7 separate regions of the Homo sapiens genome follow, and all the other regions are linked to region 2. Evidence: promoter capture Hi-C in 16 types of primary human blood cells and fetal thymus (Javierre and others, 2016). All regions are on one chromosome and are shown on one strand. Each heading gives the region's core, a stretch centred on a gene start or on the middle of the fragment in contact. The rest is flanking DNA. Distances are from core to core; before and after follow the strand shown. Region 1 overlaps CMSS1 (cms1 ribosomal small subunit homolog). Region 2 holds the start of ZBTB11-AS1 (ZBTB11 antisense RNA 1). Region 3 has its middle 5.9 kb from the start of NIT2. Region 4 has its middle 9.1 kb from the start of CMSS1. Region 5 overlaps TOMM70 (translocase of outer mitochondrial membrane 70). Region 6 overlaps TBC1D23 (TBC1 domain family member 23). Region 7 overlaps CMSS1 (cms1 ribosomal small subunit homolog).

Region 1 (2,700 bases), core at 23-2,522, 1.8 Mb before region 2:
TCATATCTGAAAAAGAAACCAGGGACTTTCCTTGGTAAGCCTTCCCATTTTTGTTTGCCCAGCTTTCCCAGGCAGAGACGATGTTAGTGCAGATGAAGGTCAAGGAGAATCTCAAGTCTTTTTTTTTTTTTAAAAAAAGGAGGGATGTGCAAAGGCTGATAAGTGTTGGTGATAATCTGCTAGGAATTAGTGTACCTAACAAAATGACTCAAAACATGAATGTCCTACCTCATTTTAAGTAGAAAATGACCAGCCATAGGAGGTTCTAAAAGTCATTGCAGCACACTTTAAGCATAAGTGACTGGGTTGGTGGCTAGAAAATGTTGTGGTGATGACAGCAGCAACCACAGAAATATTGCTTTGAAGGTTTGTGATGCTGGCTGCATATGCAGTGTCTCTTCATCTTTAAATCCTTATTTAAATATAATTTACAAAAACTAAACAATCAGTTTAAATTGAAGCTGAATTCATGGTCAAATACAAATTAAATGGACCTTAAAATCGTTTAAAATTAATATGTCCAACAGATAAGGTAGGGTGTATTAGATTTTTCAAAGATGACAGGCTCTGTGAACAACAGATGGGGCCATTTCAGTTCCTGAAGCAGGTTGAGACCAATATTGCCTTACATCCACAATATCCAGTCTTTTATAAACAGTTCTCTTCTTGCCCCTCTTCCTTTTTCCTTTAAATAGGAGGGGCTGTATGTTTTTTTTCTATTCACCTTGTAAAATGTTCACTTTGCCCTGAAGCACTAGACATGGACAGAACATGACCTAAGCAGAATTATTGGAATCTTATTCTTCCTCCTACATTTTCAGTTTTTTTTCTTAAATCTCAAAATCCATTTATTACCAAAGGCACTTTTTTGGAGGGGAAATTACAGCAGAGAACCCTTAAACAAAATTTACAGCCTTTTGAGAAGGCAAATTAATGGGAACTGCAAGAGAACCGGAAAATTAAGTCAAGGCTTGATTTGTGTTTTCATACTGGCTGTTACTATAGTCTCCATCACAGCATTAGGAAAATAGCACAAAAATACCAGGGCTTAACAGTTAAGGTTAATCACCACAAAAGTGCAAATGAACTTACTAAGCATAAAATTATTATGTGCTTTATTTGGAAGTGTAGAAATTCACATTCATTCTATCAAAAACATTTTCCCATCATACAGATTGTCCCAAGGACTAAGAAATTGCTCATCCAAAGAGCCCAGTGTGAGATAGGGTATCCATGATAAGTCATACTTAGCTTTCAGTTTTAAAAGAGGTCTTATGTGATTGTTCTTTGAACCATGCTTTAAAGTTAATAAATGGGAAAAAGTGTGGAATATTAAAGAGTGTTATTTTTAAATTTTAAAAAATCGATGCTTGCCTGCTTTAAAAAAATAAAAGACACTGGGAAACACAGCTGTTAGAATTTTGATGGAAGTTATGATTTTCAACAGTTGAGTTGTAGTTTATGGTACAGATGGTACTCTGGGTATACCTGAAACAATAATTGATGGTTTCTGTTTGTCTCTTCCTCTGTTAGATTCAGAAGAGCAGAATATCTTTTTTCCAGAGCAGGAATTTTTCAGTTTCCAATTACCGCTTATATCAGATAAACAACTCTTCCATTGCATATTCTGTACTTCTCCACAGTGACATGGGTGTTGGCCCCGCTCTTCTCATTATGGTGGGCTTCCCTAGGTTTGAAATAATAGTTTGTGGAAAATCCTACTTCTCAGTACTAACCTGCAGTTTATATAGCCTATCCTCAGGCCAAATAACATATAATTTTTCTTTTAAAATATGAAAACCAAAGTCGTGCATTGCTCCAAACAAAATTAGCAAAAACAAAAAAACTGCTATGAGGCAAAAATGATAGGCACCAATGTCATATACTTTTAAAAACCATCCAACAGAAATTATTAGAAATATACAGATATAACCCACATTTTGAGTATTTTTTAAATGCTGTGTTTCAATGATAAAATCTGGGATCTGACATTTTCTTCTGACAATTAAATATAAAAACATGAGTTTGTAACACACACATACACCTCAGTGGTTATAGTGCTCTGCTCCTCTGTTAAACTTTTACTGTACCTCCAAACAGTTATCTTATATGGTCATTTTAGTGCCAACTAAAATGCCAGCATTTTAAAATCTCAGAGTAAATATAAATGGCAGCCTATGAATTCTGAGTTTGAATTGTATATACTTATAAAACATAGAGACTGTTTTAAAAGGGACAATTCTGTCACATAGTTGTTAAAGTTTTATTTTACAATATATGTTTAGACCAGATAAGGATTGAATGATGAATCAATTTTTCATCTCCTATTCCAGTGTTCTAAAGTTGACATAACCTTTTTATTTTTAATTCCTACGTTGACTTTTAGTTGGAAAAAATGAAGTAAAATATTATGGAGATTTTTCTGCCAAGTGTTCAGTTATCATACTGTAAGAGTTCATTGGTAGCAATAGCCTCTTCAGGATTTAGATGTAACTAATTATGGTTTAAAATGTTACTGATTAATACAGTTACTCTATAAGTTTTACCTTTTAAATTGGCATTTTTTACATAATATACTACTATCCAAAATATTACTCTAGAAATGATAGCTGTAAGTGAGGTTTGTCATTTTTCCAATGCCTGGACTTGAAGCAGAAAGTTAGAACTCAAAACTATGATAGTTACTTCCTTGTACAAATT
Region 2 (2,700 bases), core at 190-2,689:
TGAGCCTAGGAGGTCGAGGCTACAGTGAGCTGTGATCGTTGTCACTGCACCAAGCAAGACCCCCTACGCTCTGTCTCCAAAAAAGGGAGATAAGTATTAAGGTTTTATGAAGGTTAAATAAATGTCAAGGGCTAACGACTACATCCTGCATATACAAGCTTGATCAATGTTACCTATAGTTACAATTATCATCTTTAACAAATCCTGAAGTATTAAATCTGAGACATTTGTTCAACAAACTAATGTCTACCCAAACCCATCCAAACAAAATGCACTGATTACTTCATTACCTCATAATTTAATCTTCGCATTTGTCTGTCCTTACAGGAATTTAATTCAGATATTGGTTTAAAGTGGAAAATAAATGGAAGAATTTGATTATCCAATAGTTCGTAAACGAATAAACTTGATGATGTTTATAAACCGAAAAGAACTTTAGAAACTATTCAGTAATTTCGTTATTCACAGACGAAGTAACCAAGATTTGAATGAAATAACTTTTCTGTAGCCATATTGGAGAGTGACAGCACTGTTCCTAACAAAATTTCTTAAATGGGACTATAAACTATTAACTAATTCTGACAGTTTGAATATTCATTAACTGTGGAGAGTGAAGATGGTTAAGAAGCCAAGGACACTTGCTATCCTCCCTTACAACTGGTTCCCAAGGAGTCAAGTAACTTCAGAGCTGTATTTTTTGACAATCAAAAAGTCACAGTAATCGTACCTTTTCTGCGTATATACAATGCTACACAGTTCCCAAACGCGTTTTTCACATCATTAGGGGAAAGATTATTAAAACATTCAGAGTTACGAATATCAAGCTGGGCGCCGTGGCTCATGCCTGAAATCCCAACACTTTGGGAGGCCGAGGCGGGAGGATGGCTTGAGGCCAGATGGAGACCAGCTTGGGGAACGAGGCGAGACCCGTGTCTACTCAAACACCCCGCCCCCGCAAAACCAAACAACAAAAACAGTAACTGATATCTTTTACATTTACTTCTTGTTCTTAAAAAAAAACGCTCAAGGCGATTTCTCAATCACTCCTTATCACTTCTGCAAATAATTGTATTATTCCTTATTTACGCAGCAGCGGCAAAATTTGAGGAACACTAGCGAATGTGTCCAGAGCAGCTCATACTCGCTCGCCAAAACCCAAGCGCAGCACTAAAGAAACGGGAGACCCGGCTTCGGGTGACTCGTCCCCCCTTCCAAACGTCAGCACAGTCGAAAACGTGCACCCCGCAGCCTCCACTGCCGCGAGCCACACGCCACCTCCAGAGGGCCGGGGCCTACAGCCTCAAGGGGCCGCCCAAGGAGGCGGACCTGGCGCAGCCCAGGCGTCCGGCCCCTCCCCGCGGCTGGCCCGGCCTCCGGGGAAGCCCCCTTGGTCCCACCCAGGGCCAGGGCCCGCCCCCAGCTTCGCCGGCCTCCTTCCTGTGGGAAGTGCGGCTCCTTTCGCGTCCCCCACCCTCTCGGCTCCGCCTGGCAGCAGCTCCGCCGCCCAGAGGCGTCCGAGACCCTCCGACTCGTGGGTACGCATAGGCCTCGCCAGCGAGCCTTGCCCAGGCAACGAGTCGCCAGCCCGCCCCCTCGCCGCGGGCTAGGTCTCACCTCGCCACCAGTACGTCTTGGACAAGTAGTGCCAGGTCTGATGCCGGGTGTGGTGAGTGCCGCCGGGACCCAGGTGCGCCGCCTCGATGAGGTCCCGGCGTCGCTCCGGCTGCAGCACCACCTCCAGCTCCGCGAAGGTCTTGCGGTGCCGCTGCCGCCGCTGGTAATACAGAGTCCCGCCGCGCACCACGTAGCAGGCGGCAGCTTTTCGGATTTTACGCTTGACATTGCCCTCGGTGCCCGGCGCATACGGCTCGCGCTCGTTCGTCAGGTAACGCAGGATGGCCCGGTAGCTTTCCTCGCTTGACATCGCGGACCGCGGCTCCCTGAGGGCGCCTGTCAGGGACAGGTGAGGAAAACGGCCCGCTACCTACGGGCGGCTGCAGGAGGAGCGGCGGCACCGTAGGGAGAAACGGCTGCGCCTTTGGCGAGCGCTCTTCGACGGCTCCCTTAGTCCGAAGGAAAAGCGGGCGAGTTGGTAACCAGGGGGAACTGCACTTCTCCAGCGCGCGGGATCCGCTGGCGACTGACAAAATGGCTGCTGCACCACCGGAAGTGACGCAAGGCAAGGGCGGGGACTGAGCCCTGATTGGAGCGCACTCTCGTTTTCTGGCTTGATGGAGCCGATCCAGTGACGTCAGGAATGCGGGTGGACATTTTGGAAGCGGGTAGGACCCTTCACTGCAGTTCGAGGGAGTCTTTAAGCAGACATCTTAAGTCCTGGCAGTTTCTCTTTTCATTTTTCCCTTTTCCACGCTTTCTAAGGAGCCACGTGTAGGGGGAGCTGGTGGACAGTTGAGAGTTCAGCCGAAACATCCAGAGGGTTAGGAGTCCGTTTTTACGTTTGAGACTCCCAACATCATAAAAGCATATTTTCAGGCTTCTGGAAAAATATTAGTCTCTTGACACGGGACCAGAGACAGCCCATTTACATGGAAATTTAGATTCCAGTTAACAGTTATAAAATTTTCAGTGCCTCCCTCAGTGATGAGTTATTGTTTCTAAACTTGCACCTGCTAGCTCCAGACTACTCAAGGAAGAGTCGAGATTCTTTTGGAATTATCAGCATTTATAGTCAATGTTATT
Region 3 (2,700 bases), core at 64-2,563, 1.3 Mb before region 2:
GACTAATATCCAGAATCTACAACAAACTCAAATTAGCAAGAAAAAAATCCCATCAAAAAGTGTGCCCATGGAATACTATGCAGCCATAAAAAAGGATGAGCTCATGTCCATTGTAGGGACATGGATGAAGCTGGAAACCATCATTCTGAGCAAACTGTTGCAAGGAAAGAAAACCAAACACCGCATGTTCTCACTCACAGGTGGGAACTGAACAATTAAAACATTTGGACACAGGGTGGGGAACATCACACACCGGGGCCTGTCGTGGGGTGCAGGGCGGGGGGAGGGATAGCATTAGGAGATATACCTAATGTAATTGACAAGTTAATGGGTGCAGCACACCAACATGGCACATGTATACATATGTAACAAACTTGCACGTTGTGCACATGTACCCTAGAACTCAAAGTATAATTTAAAAAAATTCAGGGCATATAAACAATCAAATTTTGTTCTACCACAAAAAAAAAGTGTGCTAAGGACATGAATAAACAATTCTCAAAAGAAGATATACAAATGGCCAACAAACATATGAAAAAATGCTCAACATCACTAATGATTAGGGAAATGCAAATCAAAACCACAATGTGATACCATCTTACCCCTGCAAGAATGGCCATAATCAAAAAATTAAAAAGAAAAAAAGATATTGGCATGGATGCTGTAAACAGGGAACGCGTCTATGCAGCTGGTGGGAATGTAAAGTAGTACAACCACTGTGGAAAACAGTGTGGAGATTCCTTCAAGAACTAAAAGTAGAACTACCATTTGATCCAGCAGTCCCACTGCTGGGTACCTACCCAGAGGAAAAGAAGTCATTGGTTGGTCACGGTGACTCACACCTGTAATCTCAGCACTTTGGGAGGCCAAGGCAGGTGGATCACCTGAGGTCAGGAGTTCGAGACCAGCCTGGCCAACATGGTGAAACCCCGTCTCTGCTAAAAATGCAAAAATTAGTTGGGCATGGTGGTGGGCACCTGTAATCCCAGCTACTCGGGAGGCTGAGGCAGGAGAATGGCTTGACCCCAGGAGGCGGAGATTGCAGTGAGGTGAGATTGTGCCATTGCACTCCAGTCTGGGTGACAGTGCAAGATTCCATCTCAAAAAAAAAAAAGTCATTGTAAGAAAAAGATAACTTGCACACACATGTTTACAGCAGCACAATTTGCAATTGCAAAAATGTGGAACCAACCCAAATGCCCATCAATCAATGAGTGGATAAAGAAACTGTGAGATATATATATATATATGATATTCAGCCATAAAAAGGAATGAATGAATGGCATTCGCAGCGACCTGGATAATATTGGAGACTATTTTTCTAAGTAAAGTAACTCAGGAATGGAAAACCAAACATCGTATGTTCTCACTCATAAGTAGGAGCTAAGCTATGAGGATGCAAAGGCATAAGAATGAGACAATGGACTGTGGGGACTCGGGGAAAGAGTGGGAAGGGGGTGAAGGATAAAATACTACAAATTGGGTGCAGTATATACTGCTCGGGTGATGGGTGTACCCAAATTTCACAAATCACCACTAAAGAACTTACTCAGGTTACCAAACACTACCTGTTCCCCAATAACCTATGGAAATAAAACAACTAAAATAAATAAATAAAATGAAAAAAATAGACCCCCACAAATAATGGGCAGTTGTTTTGAGCAAAGTTTCAAAGGCAATTCAATAGAGAAAGGATAGTCTTTTCAACATACACTGTTGGAACAACTAGATACCCATATACAAAGAAATTAATCTCAACCTATATACCTCAAACCTTATACAAAAATTAACTCAATGCATCATACAGCTAAATGTGCAATGTAAACCTATAAAACTAATAGAAAACAGGAGAAAATTTTCATGATCTTGGGTTAGGCCATAGTTCTTAGACATATGAAAAGCACAATCCATAAGAATGAATCATGTCTATTATCCCAGCACTTTGGGAGGCCGAGACGGGCAGATCACGAGGTCAGGAGTTTGAGACCAGCCTGGCCTGCAAGGTGAAACCCCCTCTCTACTAAAAATACAAAAATTAGTCGGGCTTGGTGGCGTGCGCCTGTAATCCCAGCTACTTGGGAGGCTGAGATAAGAGAATCACTTGACTCTGGGAGGCAGAGGTTGCAGTGAGCCGAGATCACCACTGCACTCCGGCCTGGGTGACAGAGAGAGACTCCATCTCAAAAAAAAAAAAAAAAAAATCTTAAATTTAAAAATTTTGCTCTGCAAAAGACACTTAATAGAAGGGAAAGACAAGCTACATACTGGGGAAAAATACTGTACTTGCAAAACATACCAACAAAGGATTTGTGTTCAGAATATATAAAGATTTTCACTACAACAATAAGAAAACAAAACAATGGGGAAAAGAAGCAATTCTTCAGAGAAAGATGGGTGGCAAATAGGCATGTGAAAAGATCATCATTAGCTGTTGGGGAAATGTAAATCAAAACCACACCAGTTAGAATGGCTAAAATTAAAAACAAAAAATGACAATACCAAGTGCTGGTGAGGATATGGAATAACTAGAACATTCATACATTGCTGGTGGGTGTACAAAATGGTACAGACACTCTAGACAACAGTTTGGCCATTTCTTGTAAATAAACATATGTTTACTATACAACCCGGCAATCCCTCTCCTAGGTATTTACCCTAGGGAAATGAAAACTTAACATCCACACAAAAGAGTTCATGGTT
Region 4 (2,700 bases), core at 125-2,624, 1.9 Mb before region 2:
AGAATATTTTGACACATGCTATAACATGGATGAACCTTGAGGACATTATGCCAGTCACAAAATAACAAATATTGTATGACTGTACTTATATGCAGTACCTAGAGTAGTCAAATTCATAGAGGTAGCAAGCAGAATGGTGGTTGCCAGTGGCTCGAGTGAGGGGGGTTTTTGTATAATGGGCACAGAGTTTCAGTTTTGCAAGATAAAAAGAGTTCTGAGGATGAATGGTGGTGATGGTTGCACAACAATGTGAATGTACGTAATGCCACTGAACTAAACTGTACTTAATATACTTAAAAATGGTTAAGATAATAAATTTTATATTATGTATATTTTACAATTTCAAAAAATGATGTTAAAAAGTAAAACTAAAGGGTAAACTATTTATCAATAGGAATAAACCATAGGAGGCAATTGGAAATGACTTCCAGCAGCCTCCCTTACCTCCAAGTTCACTGCACTTCTCACCAATAATGCATCAGGGGCCTAAGCAGCAACATTTTGGTGGTCCAAAAACCACAAATCCCAGCTCTCCCAGGAACACTTCTGCAGACCATTATGGAAACTGCCACTTTCTGTGCCTCCTCTACTTCAGTGGATGTTACCTTCTAGAGACCTTAAGACCTGGCTGCTGGACGCAGATGCTCTGCCTTCACCCATTAACTTCAAAGTACAAACCCAAATGACTGGATTTCCTTTTCCTCAGGCCCAAATATGCAATCTGCATGCTAATTCTCTTATTACAAAAGCAAAGTTAACAATCAGGTTTTTCTTCCCCTAAATGAGAGGATCTTTACAGAGTCCATACATACTGAAGACATAAGATTAGAAAAAGGAAGCTTTAATTCAGCCACCTGACCTCAGCAGGCCCTGTCAGGAGAAGGAAGGAAAATCCACTGCCAATCTAGGCAGGGACCAACAAAGGAATACGGTTTTGGCAGCTTGCAGGTCCCTAAGGAACAAGGTCTCCCTCTCGTGGCCATGATAGAAACAGCAGTTCAAGAAGCAGGTTTCAGTCATTTTCTTCTTACAGGAATTCTGTTATGTCAGACATTCAGAAAGGTCATAGTGGGAATGGCTAGCCTCTGCTCCATGATGTCTTGGACCACAGCTTGGGATCAATCAACAGCTGGTGACTGGAATCACCTGGGGGTATCTTTATTTATAGGTCTGGCTGTGGATGCTGTCAGCAGGGACCTTAGCTGAGCTGTGGACCAGAATAGCTACACGTGTTCTTTCCACAGGGTTTCTCTGTGTGGGCTACTTTGAGCTTTCTCAGAGTGATGCCTGGGTTCCAAGTGAGCATCCCAAGGGAGCAAGGTGGAAATGCACAGAATTTTAGGGATCTAGCCTCAGAAGTCACCGAATATCATTTCTACCATGTTCTCTTGGTTGACATGATAAAGTTCTGCCAAGGTTCAAGGAAAGGGAACACAGATCCCACCACTCAATGGGAGAACTGTCAAGGTCAGATTACAAGAAGAGTAGGTGAGATGGAGGATATTGGTGGCCATCTTTGAAAAATACAATCTACCGCATTGTCCACCTGGTTGGTCAATGCTTCACTTGTAGTGGATACTCTCTGGTGGACACACACATGTGCCACAAAGACACACACACTTTGTGCTCACTCCTTTAGGTCCCTCCACATGCCTCTTCCTCAGGTCTCTTTATTATTGAACTTCACATATTCTATCTTAGAGACCTTTCACCCAATCAACCATACCATTCACTGTTGCTCAAGGCCCTACATTTACACTGACCTCAGACTATTTTCTCCATTCAAAGGAGATGAATGCATGTACTGAAGCTCTGCCAACCAGGATTCTGTTCACCTCTGTCCTTTAAGGATCCTCCCTGAGTGGAACCGCAGTGTAGTAGCAATCCATTTTCAGTTCTACCAACATACCAAGCTTAACCAGCTTTGAGCATTTTCCAACATTATCAGCTGGTCATAGAGAATAACCCAGAGGACATAGGTGTGAGCTGAGGAACACAAAAGGCAAGGAGCTCTGAGCCATCTGTTCATGTATCTTGTGACTTTTGGACTTGCTTACATGTGCTCGCATGTATACCATTTCTGTTGTTCAGTGGATTGTTACTGTGAGCACCCAACCTTACAAGAGCCAATTCCTGAAGGGCAGTTCTGGTCATATAGTCATTTGATATTCCATAGTCAAGTGCCTGTTTCTGCTAGGACTCTACATTTTGCCCACAGCTGCTTTTCAAATGGTTTGGCTGTAGAAGGCAAAGCTGTACTAGAAAATCCTTGGAGCAGGCACCGTGATTCTCTCTTTAGGATCTGCCAGAGATTCCATCCAGCATCATTATCTATCACTCAGCACCTTTGGATCTGCCATGTCATTATGGCCTGAGTGGCAGGGCAGCTTGTGTCGTAGCCAAGACTTGCTGCTGAGCCCTCCCTTCTCTTGACCCTATTCAAAAATGGCAGCCTTTTGAGTCACCTGATAAATGAGTTAGAACACTATTTCCAAATGTGGCATAGGCTATCTGCACAAAATACTGTTTCTCTTAGGGGAAGATGAGAGATACAAAAAATTTTCCTTTACATTGAAGGGGATTCCCAGGCATGCTTCAGATCACCAAACTCCTAAAAATATAACCAACATTGCAGTTCCCTGAACATTTGTAATTTCTCTCTCACCCTTTGGCATGCATGTATTTTACTAGGGCATCCAG
Region 5 (2,700 bases), core at 174-2,673, 1.3 Mb before region 2:
CCAACTTAAATATTTTAAAAATCGCTCTTAAAAATATCAAAGAAATGTAGCCAGCACATCTTCTTTATAATAAAAATCAGAAAGATATAGAAAGTAGAAATATTTTTATAGCTTCCATCATTGTGAGCATGGATGCCTTCCTGATATATTTTTCTATCTCTATTTACTTCCCTATTTGTTTTCTTTCACATGGTTGAGTTCATTTTGTATGCAATTCTCCCTTTAATAATAGGCAGTGCTGTATCTTGCTTTGTAACTTTAATGTATTTGTAACTTTTAATGGCTGCATAATATACCATTAAGTGAGTGTACCACAATTCTGCAAACATAATTCAATTTTCTGTTAACATTTAGGATTTTCCCCAATTGTTTGTCATAGTTAACAATAATGTAATAAATACTTATTTTGAAAACAAAAGCAGCAGCTATAATCAACTTTTTAAGACAAATCCCACGGCTGAAATGGAAGGCACAGTTCTGTGGATATCAGACTATGCTCAAGCTGTAACTTTGCGAGTTGGCCAGCATCTACGCCAAAGCTTTGAGGGCCAAAAAAGTTACACTAAGTATATATATATACACATACACATACACACACACGTACTGTATGCATATATAAAGTTACATATACTATATAGTGAAGCTAAAATTAGAAAACAGACCAAAGAAAAGAAATTTGAGTGCAAACTGACTGTAATAATGCTAATGCTGATGAGAAGACAGCTCATACAAACCAAACCTATCTTGAAGGCAGAATGGTAATAGGGAAATATGCTATTGGGAAAGTTCTGCAGAGGAGTTGTTCCCCAGTAGTGGTTCCTATTCGGTGGCCTTTGCTCTTCTAGATGCTTAGAGAAATCTGCACCAAAAAAGCCCTTCTGAATTCCATGACAATGATGAGGATGTTGCTGTCATTTCCTGGTTTGTTACTAATTATAAGGCATAAACTCAAGTGTACCCATTCATAGGATTAAAATGTACACTTTAATGTAGTTATATATAAGACCTACCTCTAAAGAACAGATCCAACACAAATCAATTTTCTCATAGTTCCACCCTCAATAAACCCTTAAAATCCTTGTGAAATTGTTCTTATAACCTGCCTACAGATACCATGAAGGAAATTAAAAACAAAATAAGCATCCTTAAGAATGGTTTAAGGAGAGGGGTCAACCAGCGATGGTATTTTTTTTTTTTTTTTTTTTTTTTGGAAATGGAGTCTCACTCTTGCCCAGGCTGGAGTGTGGTAGTGTGATCTCAGCTCACTGCAACCTCCGCCTCCTGGGTTCAAGCGATTCTCCTACCTCAGCCTCCCGAGTTGCTGGGATAACAGGTGTGCGCCAAACCACACCCAGCTAATTTTTGTATTTTTAGTAGAGATGGGGTTTCTCCATGCTGGCCAGGCTAGTCTCAAAACTCCTGGCTCAAGTGATCCGCCTGCCTCAGCCTCCCAAAGTGCTGGGATTGCAGGCAGGAGCCACCACACCCAGCCAGGGGATAGTAATTTGTTATCGTTTCCTATTTCTGTGCTGTGGGGAAAAACCCAACATGTCTTTTGTAATTAAAAAGAGAAAAAAAAAGAAAAATAAATTACATAGAGCAGCAGTCCCCAACACCTTCCCAGCACTTTTGGCACCACGGATTGGTTTTGTGGAAGACAATTTTTGCATGGATGGGGGTAGGAGGAGGAGGGATGGTTTTGGGATGAAACTGTTCCACCTCAGATCATCAGGCATGAGAATCTAATGCTGCTGCAGATTTGACAGTGACAGGAGGTGGAGCTCAGGTGGTGATGCTTGCCCAAGGCTCACCTGCTGTGCAGCCCCATTCCTAAGAGGCCACAAAGCAGCTGTACCCCTGATATAGAGTATTGAGATGGCTAGTTTATGTAGACACCAAAACCAATTTTCAGCTTTAAGAAAGAAAACTGAGTCATTCAGAGATCTTTTATTTGAGGGGAAAATGTATGACCGTCACTACAAGAAGCTAATCATTTTCATTTAAATGGATGATTTAAAACTAAGAAGTTTTCAAGAATTTCAGACTACAATAAAAAAATTCAGATTTAAATCCTGCTTTCCATAGCTTCAATCCTAAACCAAGAGAGTTTCAGGAATTTTAGATAAAGCAAAGATAAATTAAAATAAACCGTTACAACAACCTAGCCATATAAAAAGGCAGTGACCAGATAGAAAGAAAAGCCTTTCCGTGGATATTTTCTCCACCAATTGCATACGGTAAATTTTCCTAAGGTAATTACTTTTTGCAAAACCAATCCAAATGAAGACAGGAGGGAAATTCTCGCCTTAAGCTTCCCCATATTGAGTTTAGGGCCATGATTTCCAAATTGTGTAACAAAGGAGCCTCTTCTGAGGTGATTCGGGACCAACCAGGGGCCATGAGAATCAATCAGGAACAAAGCCACCTGCTTCCAAAGAAGCTGCAACCATGATAGCACTGTTTTCTGATTTCCATACTGAGATTTGGCATATGTATGCAGTTATTTTTAAAAAACCTGAAAAAACATTTACCTGGGCGTATAGTGCATAGCCTTCGGCACACCTTGGAAATTTCTTTATGACCTCTTCAAAACCTTTCATAGCTGCTTGGATTTGTGAAGAGTTGTTTCCCGTATATGCCTGGCGGTACTATAAAAAATCAAAACAGGCCTGTCAAATCAAGAACTCAAAAACTCATGGA
Region 6 (2,700 bases), core at 75-2,574, 1.4 Mb before region 2:
AGGAGACTGAGGCAGGGAGAATTGCTTGAACCCAGGAGGCGGAGGTTGCAGTGAGCCAAGATCGCACCACTGCACTCCAACCTGGGCAACAGAGCAGGACTCTGTCTCAAAACAACAACAACAAAAAACACAAAAAAGAATTATACTCGCATCTCTTACATTTGGTACATCAGGATAACTTTTCTTCAGAAAATAAAGGCCTAAGTGGCAATGTCTTTAAAAAGCAAACATTTACAAGGGATATTTAAAAATGTAGCTGCATGGATAGTAGTTTGATTATACTTTTGCTTATTTTTGAAGACTAGTCTGAGATAAGAAAGGTTAATAGTTTTAACTATTTCTTATTGAATAAATAAGGTAATTTCAGGCTCCACACTCACATATGTGCAAATAGTAGTTTGATCATACTTTTGCTTATTTTTGTAGACTAGTCTGAGATAAGAAAGGTCAGTAGTTTTAACTGTTTCTTATATAATAAAAAAGATAATGTCAGACTCCACGCACATATATGTGCAAGTATATCCTAAATTTTTTATTCTACCTTCTTTTTTTTTTTTTTTTTTTGAGACAGCGTCTCGCTCTGTCGCGCAGACTGGAGTGCAGTGGTACAATCTCAGCACACTGCAACCTCCACCTCACAGGTTCAAGCAGTTCTCTGCCACAGCCTCCCGAGTAGCTGGGATTACAAGCACCCATCACCACGCCCGGCTAATTTTTGTACTTTTAGTAGAGATGGGGTTTCACCATGTTGGCCAGTCTGGTCTTGAACTCCTGACCTCATGATCCACCTGCCTCGGCCTCCCAAAGTACTGGGATTACAGGCGTGAGCCACCGCGCCCAGCATCTACCTTCTATTCTTAAAATGATTTCACCTAATGAATTAGTTTGCAGCTGCCGCAACAAAATATCATACTACAAACTGGGGGCTTAACCAATGTAAATTTATTTTCTTACTGTTCTGGAGGCTAAAAGTCCAAGATGAAAGTATTGGCAGGTTTAGTTTATCCTGAGGCCTCTCTCCTTGGCTTGCAGATGGATGCCTTGCCTTGTGTGTCCTTACATGGCTTCTCTGTTTTCATGTGCTCATGTCTTTCTCTCTTATAAGGACACCAGTCAGACTGGATTAGAGACCACCTGAAGACCTCATTTAACCTTAATTATGCCTGTAGAGGCCTTGTCTCCAAATACAGTCACATTCTGAGATATACTGGGAGTTAGGACTTCAACATATGATTTTGGTGGGATTGCAATTCAGTCTATAACATGTAGATAACCATTAGCAGTAGTATGTCTTTTAGTCATTCAGAGGCAGTTAATCCATTATGTTCTTTTTTTAGGGTGAATCTCCTAATGGCTCAAGTGATAGAGGAATGAAATCACTAGTAAATAAAATGACTGTGGCTTTGAAGACAAAATCCGTTAATGTCAGGGAAAAAGTTATCAGTTTTATAGAGAATACATCAACTCCTGTGGATCGGTGAGTTGTTTATACAGTATGAGTTTATGATGAGTAATTAAAACTAAAGAAACAATGTCTTAGAGTAAGTAAATGTTAGTTGAATTTAATGTGTTCCAGAAAAGGATTATAAAGTATATTTTCTATTAGATGATTTCATAGTTTTCATTAGAATTGCAGGAATGTACTTTATATCCATAATTATTCTCTCTTACTACTCAAAGATGCAAATAATGTATCTGTCACATCATGCCATTCACTAAAAGAAATTTATGTCCCAGTATGTATCACATTTCATATAGTAGCTGCTTCCCAAATGTCAAATGGATGGAGAATCATCTGCCGAATTCAGTGATCTCATAGTAGGAACTTCTTCTTCTGCTCCAAGATTTTAAAACCTAGAAAATCTGGTCATGCTAAATATAGCAGAAACCCACCTTCTGATGTTTAAGATCAGACCTTCATAGAATTTCGTTTACAAAACCCCATTTCCTTGTAAATTACAAATGAGGGACATGGTTAACAATTTAGAAATAAGTTTAAAAATATCTGTTATATATATTGTTTCTTATTGTAACTGAGGATACATTTTTTTCTCCACGTATAAGTCTGTTTGATCTTTCTTGTTCCTAGAGTTCAAAGCTAACCTTATAATTGCAACACAGAATTTGTTTTAAGGAAGCCTCATATTGGAAATGTGTTATAGTATTTGGTTTCACTTTCATGTCTTGCAGTATCCTGGGAAAACTGACATATTTTACTTTAAGAATTGAATGTCAGGGATTTGTTGTCTGTCCCTTTATTAAGTATAGTATATATGCATACAAAAGCACATTTTTCTGCATTTAGTAAATAGCCGAGAAGGTAATAGATTATTTTCATTGATCCAAAACATTGTACCTTATCTAAAATGGTCAACTGATAATTACTAAGGTGTTTTATCAAGCCTGAAAGACTTGTTTATGCAGTAAAGTTATGTCTTCTCAAAAGCTAACCCTTTTACCTTTTGTTGGTGCTTCTGAGTTGGAGGACTATTATTGCTACATTTTGTAGCATGAACATTTACAATTTTATTTTAAAATTTATTTGTTTTAAAATGTACTGGTGATAACTAAGTCAAAAAGACTGCTGCCTTGATTAGTTGAAATTGGCTTTTCTTTGTTTTTCTTTGTACTTGGGATGATGGAAACATCTTCTTTATAATGTACACTCTGGGTGAGAAAAACTAAACTGTACCATATTTT
Region 7 (2,700 bases), core at 163-2,662, 1.8 Mb before region 2:
ATCTTTGGGTTAGATTATATGTCGGATGAGGAAATGGGTAGATTTGGGTGTGGGTCTAGGCCTGCGAGTGTTTGTGTGTGCATATACACATATAGAAGTAAAATAATTGTAGACGTGCTGCTTTTTGGGGGATGATCTTCATCAGGTCCACAAAGCTGCTTCACCATTTCCTGGAGAGATGGTCCTTTGGCCTTTCATAGTGGTAATTTTAGCTTTCCACATATTTCTGTAGATGAATGTATCCAGGCAGTGCATTGGTATGAGTTACCTTCTCCCTCCCACGTGGAGGAAGGTGTTGGAGGTGACAGTTCTCACGATGTGTAGCTTCCCACAGCCATTTTGGTAAATAGGCTTATCCATAGGCACTGTGGGGGCTTTAGTGGAAATCTTGGTGATGCCTGTAGATTTCGGTTTAGGGATCCGTGCTGGGATTCTCTGCTTGCATACCTCCTTGATCTTGAATTAAACAAGAGAACAAAAGGTAATTAATGGTACAGTTGGTGGAGAAGTAGAAATTGTTTAGGACATGGAGTCAGTTTGGAGGATTTGGCTTTGAAAGCACCAGTTTCTGGGGATGTATCAGATCAAAGATCGTCAGGTTGAAGAAAAGAATGTCAGTAAAGTAATCTGGTGTGTGTTGAATGTGTGCTGTGTGCACAGTTCTTGATAGAGATAGTGGTAGATACAGAGATGAATAGATATTTGGCAATCACGGTGTAGTAGGACATATACAAGAGTAGTGTCCCAAATTAATCTCAAAGAGCCATGAGATTGCCAGAGAAAGGTTAATTTCGAATGAGATTGTCTTTAAGAGTGCTTCATGAAGAATATGGCATTTGACTTGGGCCTTCAGACTTTTAAAAGTTTTCACAGTATGAGTGAGATGGGCAGCTCCAATGATGATTAGTGGAACAGCTTGGTAGTATGTATCAAGAGCCTTATGAATCTTTTCTAGGATGTAGAGAGGCAGTCAAGGATATTTGATTTTAGCATTGTTTATAATGATGAAAAATGGACAGTTAAATGAATAGGATGTGTTAAATGAATTATAGTATAATTATGACAACATGCTTTGTTAATGAGGCCAAAGCTTCAGGAAAACGTTTACTTAGATATGTTAAAAGTAGAATTTAAAACTGTGTACATGCTTTAATTATTTACATGTGAAGAGAAAAATACTAAAAGAAAATGCACCCATGCTATTGGTTGTTAACCCTGATTAGTGGACTTACAGGTACTTTTGATTTTTCTTACATTTTCTGTGTTCTCCACATATTTTATAGTAAGTATGCTATGAGAAAAAGGAACACTAAATTGTTTTAAAAGACGAAAAAGGAAGGAAACAACTTGGAGATCAGGACATTTCTGTGAACAACCATATTATCCAAGCCATGAGCAGTAGAAGCTGCAGTTGAAGTCAGTGACAGACTAATCAAGTCTGCTAATATTGTGACTATAGCATTAATAATAGCCTTCCCAAGATGGATTTCTGTGATGTCCTGTAACTTTATCAAGATTTAGATTGGGTCTCCAATTTAGTGTTCAAAAATCTATGTTGGGATCGTCTTTAAATTGTAGATTTCTGAATCTTACTCCTATGCATTGTAATTCATTGGTTTGTGGATATGTCCAGCAATTCACATTTTTAATAAACTCTCAGAGTGATTTCTTCAACTCAGGTGGTTGGCCTACCACACTTGGAAAAGTGCTGCCATAATTGAACTTCCTTTAGATGTAAGCTTTATTTTTTCTTCACCTGGAACTCTAGCCTACCTGGGTATGCATAGTTCAATACTGTGAAAGGCCGAGACAGATTGGTATGACACACAGTATTGGTGGAGCTCGTTTCTTTTGAGCAACACTGATACGTGTTGGTGAAGAAAATGTGGCTTGGAATGGTGGTCACTGATACTTTCAGGCCCAGCTGCCTGAAGGTTACTGGGCTCCTACTTGTTTCTACACCATTGATGTGCAAGCTTTTGTTTTCTAGGTAACTCCATTTTCATTACGTAGTTTTTACCTCTAGATGGCAGCAAAGGCTTGTTATTTTATCAGAACAACCCCAATTGTCATTCCTAAATCTTTTTTTTTTTTTTTTTGAGACGGAGTCTCGCTGTATCACCCAGACTGGAGTGCAGTGGCGCGATATCGGCTCACTGCAAGCTCCGCCTCCCGGGCTCCCGCCATTCTCCTGCCTCAGCCTCCCCAGTAGCTGGGACCACAGGCGACCGCCACCACGCCCGGCTAATTTTTTGTATTTTTAGTAGAGACGGGGTTTCACTGTGTTAGCCAGGATGATCTCGATCTCCTGACCTCATGATCCGCCCGCCTTGGCCTCCCAAAGTGCTGGGATTACAGGTGTGAGCCACTGCGCCCAGCCATTCCCAAATCTTTAAAAAAAAAAAAAAAAAGGCCTAGCGCAGTGGCTCATACCTGTAATCCCAGCACTTTGCGAGGCTGAGGCGGGCGGATCACTTGAGGTCAGGAGTTCGAGACCAGCCTGGCCAACACGGTGAAACCCTGTCTCTACTGAAAATACAAAACAGCCGGGCGTCGTGGCGCACTCCTGTAATCCCAGCTACTTGGAGGCTAAGGCAGGAGAATCGCTTGAACCCACGAGGCGGAGGTTGCAGTGAGCCGAGATCATAGCATTGCACTCCAGCCTGGGCCACAGAGCAAGACTCTGTCTCAAAAAAAAAA

What was found. The method cuts DNA at HindIII sites, captures the fragments that hold promoters and counts their contacts. A CHiCAGO score of 5 or more calls a contact.
Region 1: a contact is called between a fragment that was not itself captured here and the fragment with the promoter of ZBTB11-AS1 in region 2, in 2 of 17 cell types (M2 macrophages and total B cells). The highest score is 5.6, in M2 macrophages.
Region 3: a fragment that was not itself captured here is called in contact with the fragment with the promoter of ZBTB11-AS1 in region 2 in 2 of 17 cell types (total B cells and M2 macrophages); the score reaches 5.7 in total B cells.
Region 4: a contact is called between a fragment that was not itself captured here and the fragment with the promoter of ZBTB11-AS1 in region 2, in 1 of 17 cell types (total B cells). The highest score is 5.6, in total B cells.
Region 5: a fragment that was not itself captured here is called in contact with the fragment with the promoter of ZBTB11-AS1 in region 2 in 1 of 17 cell types (M1 macrophages); the score reaches 5.3 in M1 macrophages.
Region 6: a fragment that was not itself captured here is called in contact with the fragment with the promoter of ZBTB11-AS1 in region 2 in 1 of 17 cell types (monocytes); the score reaches 5.4 in monocytes.
Region 7: a contact is called between a fragment that was not itself captured here and the fragment with the promoter of ZBTB11-AS1 in region 2, in 2 of 17 cell types (total B cells and fetal thymus). The highest score is 8.3, in total B cells.

Annotation. Positions count from the first base shown.
Region 1 is chr3:99,872,800-99,875,499 of GRCh38, forward strand. All of the region lies in intron 1 of CMSS1 (cms1 ribosomal small subunit homolog), which reads left to right. All of the region lies in intron 4 of FILIP1L (filamin A interacting protein 1 like), which reads right to left. All of the region lies in intron 1 of LOC105374010 (a long non-coding RNA gene), which reads left to right. Among named protein-coding and RNA genes, the nearest start is that of HP09053, 50 kb to the left of the region's middle. The HindIII fragment of the contact is 2,943 bases long and covers 1-2,700 here.
Region 2 is chr3:101,674,991-101,677,690 of GRCh38, forward strand. It overlaps ZBTB11-AS1 (ZBTB11 antisense RNA 1), which reads left to right and starts at 1,440. Exons shown (of 1, transcript NR_024407.1): 1 at 1,440-2,700. It overlaps ZBTB11 (zinc finger and BTB domain containing 11), which reads right to left and starts at 2,142. Exons shown (of 11, transcript NM_014415.4): 1 at 1,615-2,142. The coding sequence starts at 1,924. It overlaps LOC124906262 (endogenous retrovirus group K member 5 Gag polyprotein), which reads left to right and starts at 1,455. Exons shown (of 3, transcript XM_047449415.1): 1 at 1,455-2,700. RefSeq lists a silencer at 1,194-1,563 and an enhancer at 1,280-1,834. The HindIII fragment of the contact is 10,842 bases long and covers 157-2,700 here.
Region 3 is chr3:100,327,488-100,330,187 of GRCh38, forward strand. No RefSeq gene overlaps it. Among named protein-coding and RNA genes, the nearest start is that of NIT2, 5.9 kb to the right of the region's middle. RefSeq lists a silencer at 715-945. The HindIII fragment of the contact is 4,443 bases long and covers 1-2,700 here.
Region 4 is chr3:99,807,404-99,810,103 of GRCh38, forward strand. No RefSeq gene overlaps it. Among named protein-coding and RNA genes, the nearest start is that of CMSS1, 9.1 kb to the right of the region's middle. The HindIII fragment of the contact is 1,074 bases long and covers 838-1,911 here.
Region 5 is chr3:100,370,075-100,372,774 of GRCh38, forward strand. It overlaps TOMM70 (translocase of outer mitochondrial membrane 70), which reads right to left. Exons shown (of 12, transcript NM_014820.5): 9 at 2,532-2,648. Among named protein-coding and RNA genes, the nearest start is that of TOMM70, 30 kb to the right of the region's middle. The HindIII fragment of the contact is 1,772 bases long and covers 538-2,309 here.
Region 6 is chr3:100,309,066-100,311,765 of GRCh38, forward strand. TBC1D23 (TBC1 domain family member 23) reads left to right here. Exons shown (of 19, transcript NM_001199198.3): 14 at 1,338-1,477. Among named protein-coding and RNA genes, the nearest start is that of NIT2, 24 kb to the right of the region's middle. The HindIII fragment of the contact is 4,750 bases long and covers 1-2,700 here.
Region 7 is chr3:99,830,150-99,832,849 of GRCh38, forward strand. All of the region lies in intron 1 of CMSS1 (cms1 ribosomal small subunit homolog), which reads left to right. It overlaps FILIP1L (filamin A interacting protein 1 like), which reads right to left. Exons shown (of 6, transcript NM_001387850.1): 6 at 1-456. The coding sequence ends at 265. All of the region lies in intron 1 of LOC105374010 (a long non-coding RNA gene), which reads left to right. Among named protein-coding and RNA genes, the nearest start is that of HP09053, 7.6 kb to the left of the region's middle. The HindIII fragment of the contact is 649 bases long and covers 1,089-1,737 here.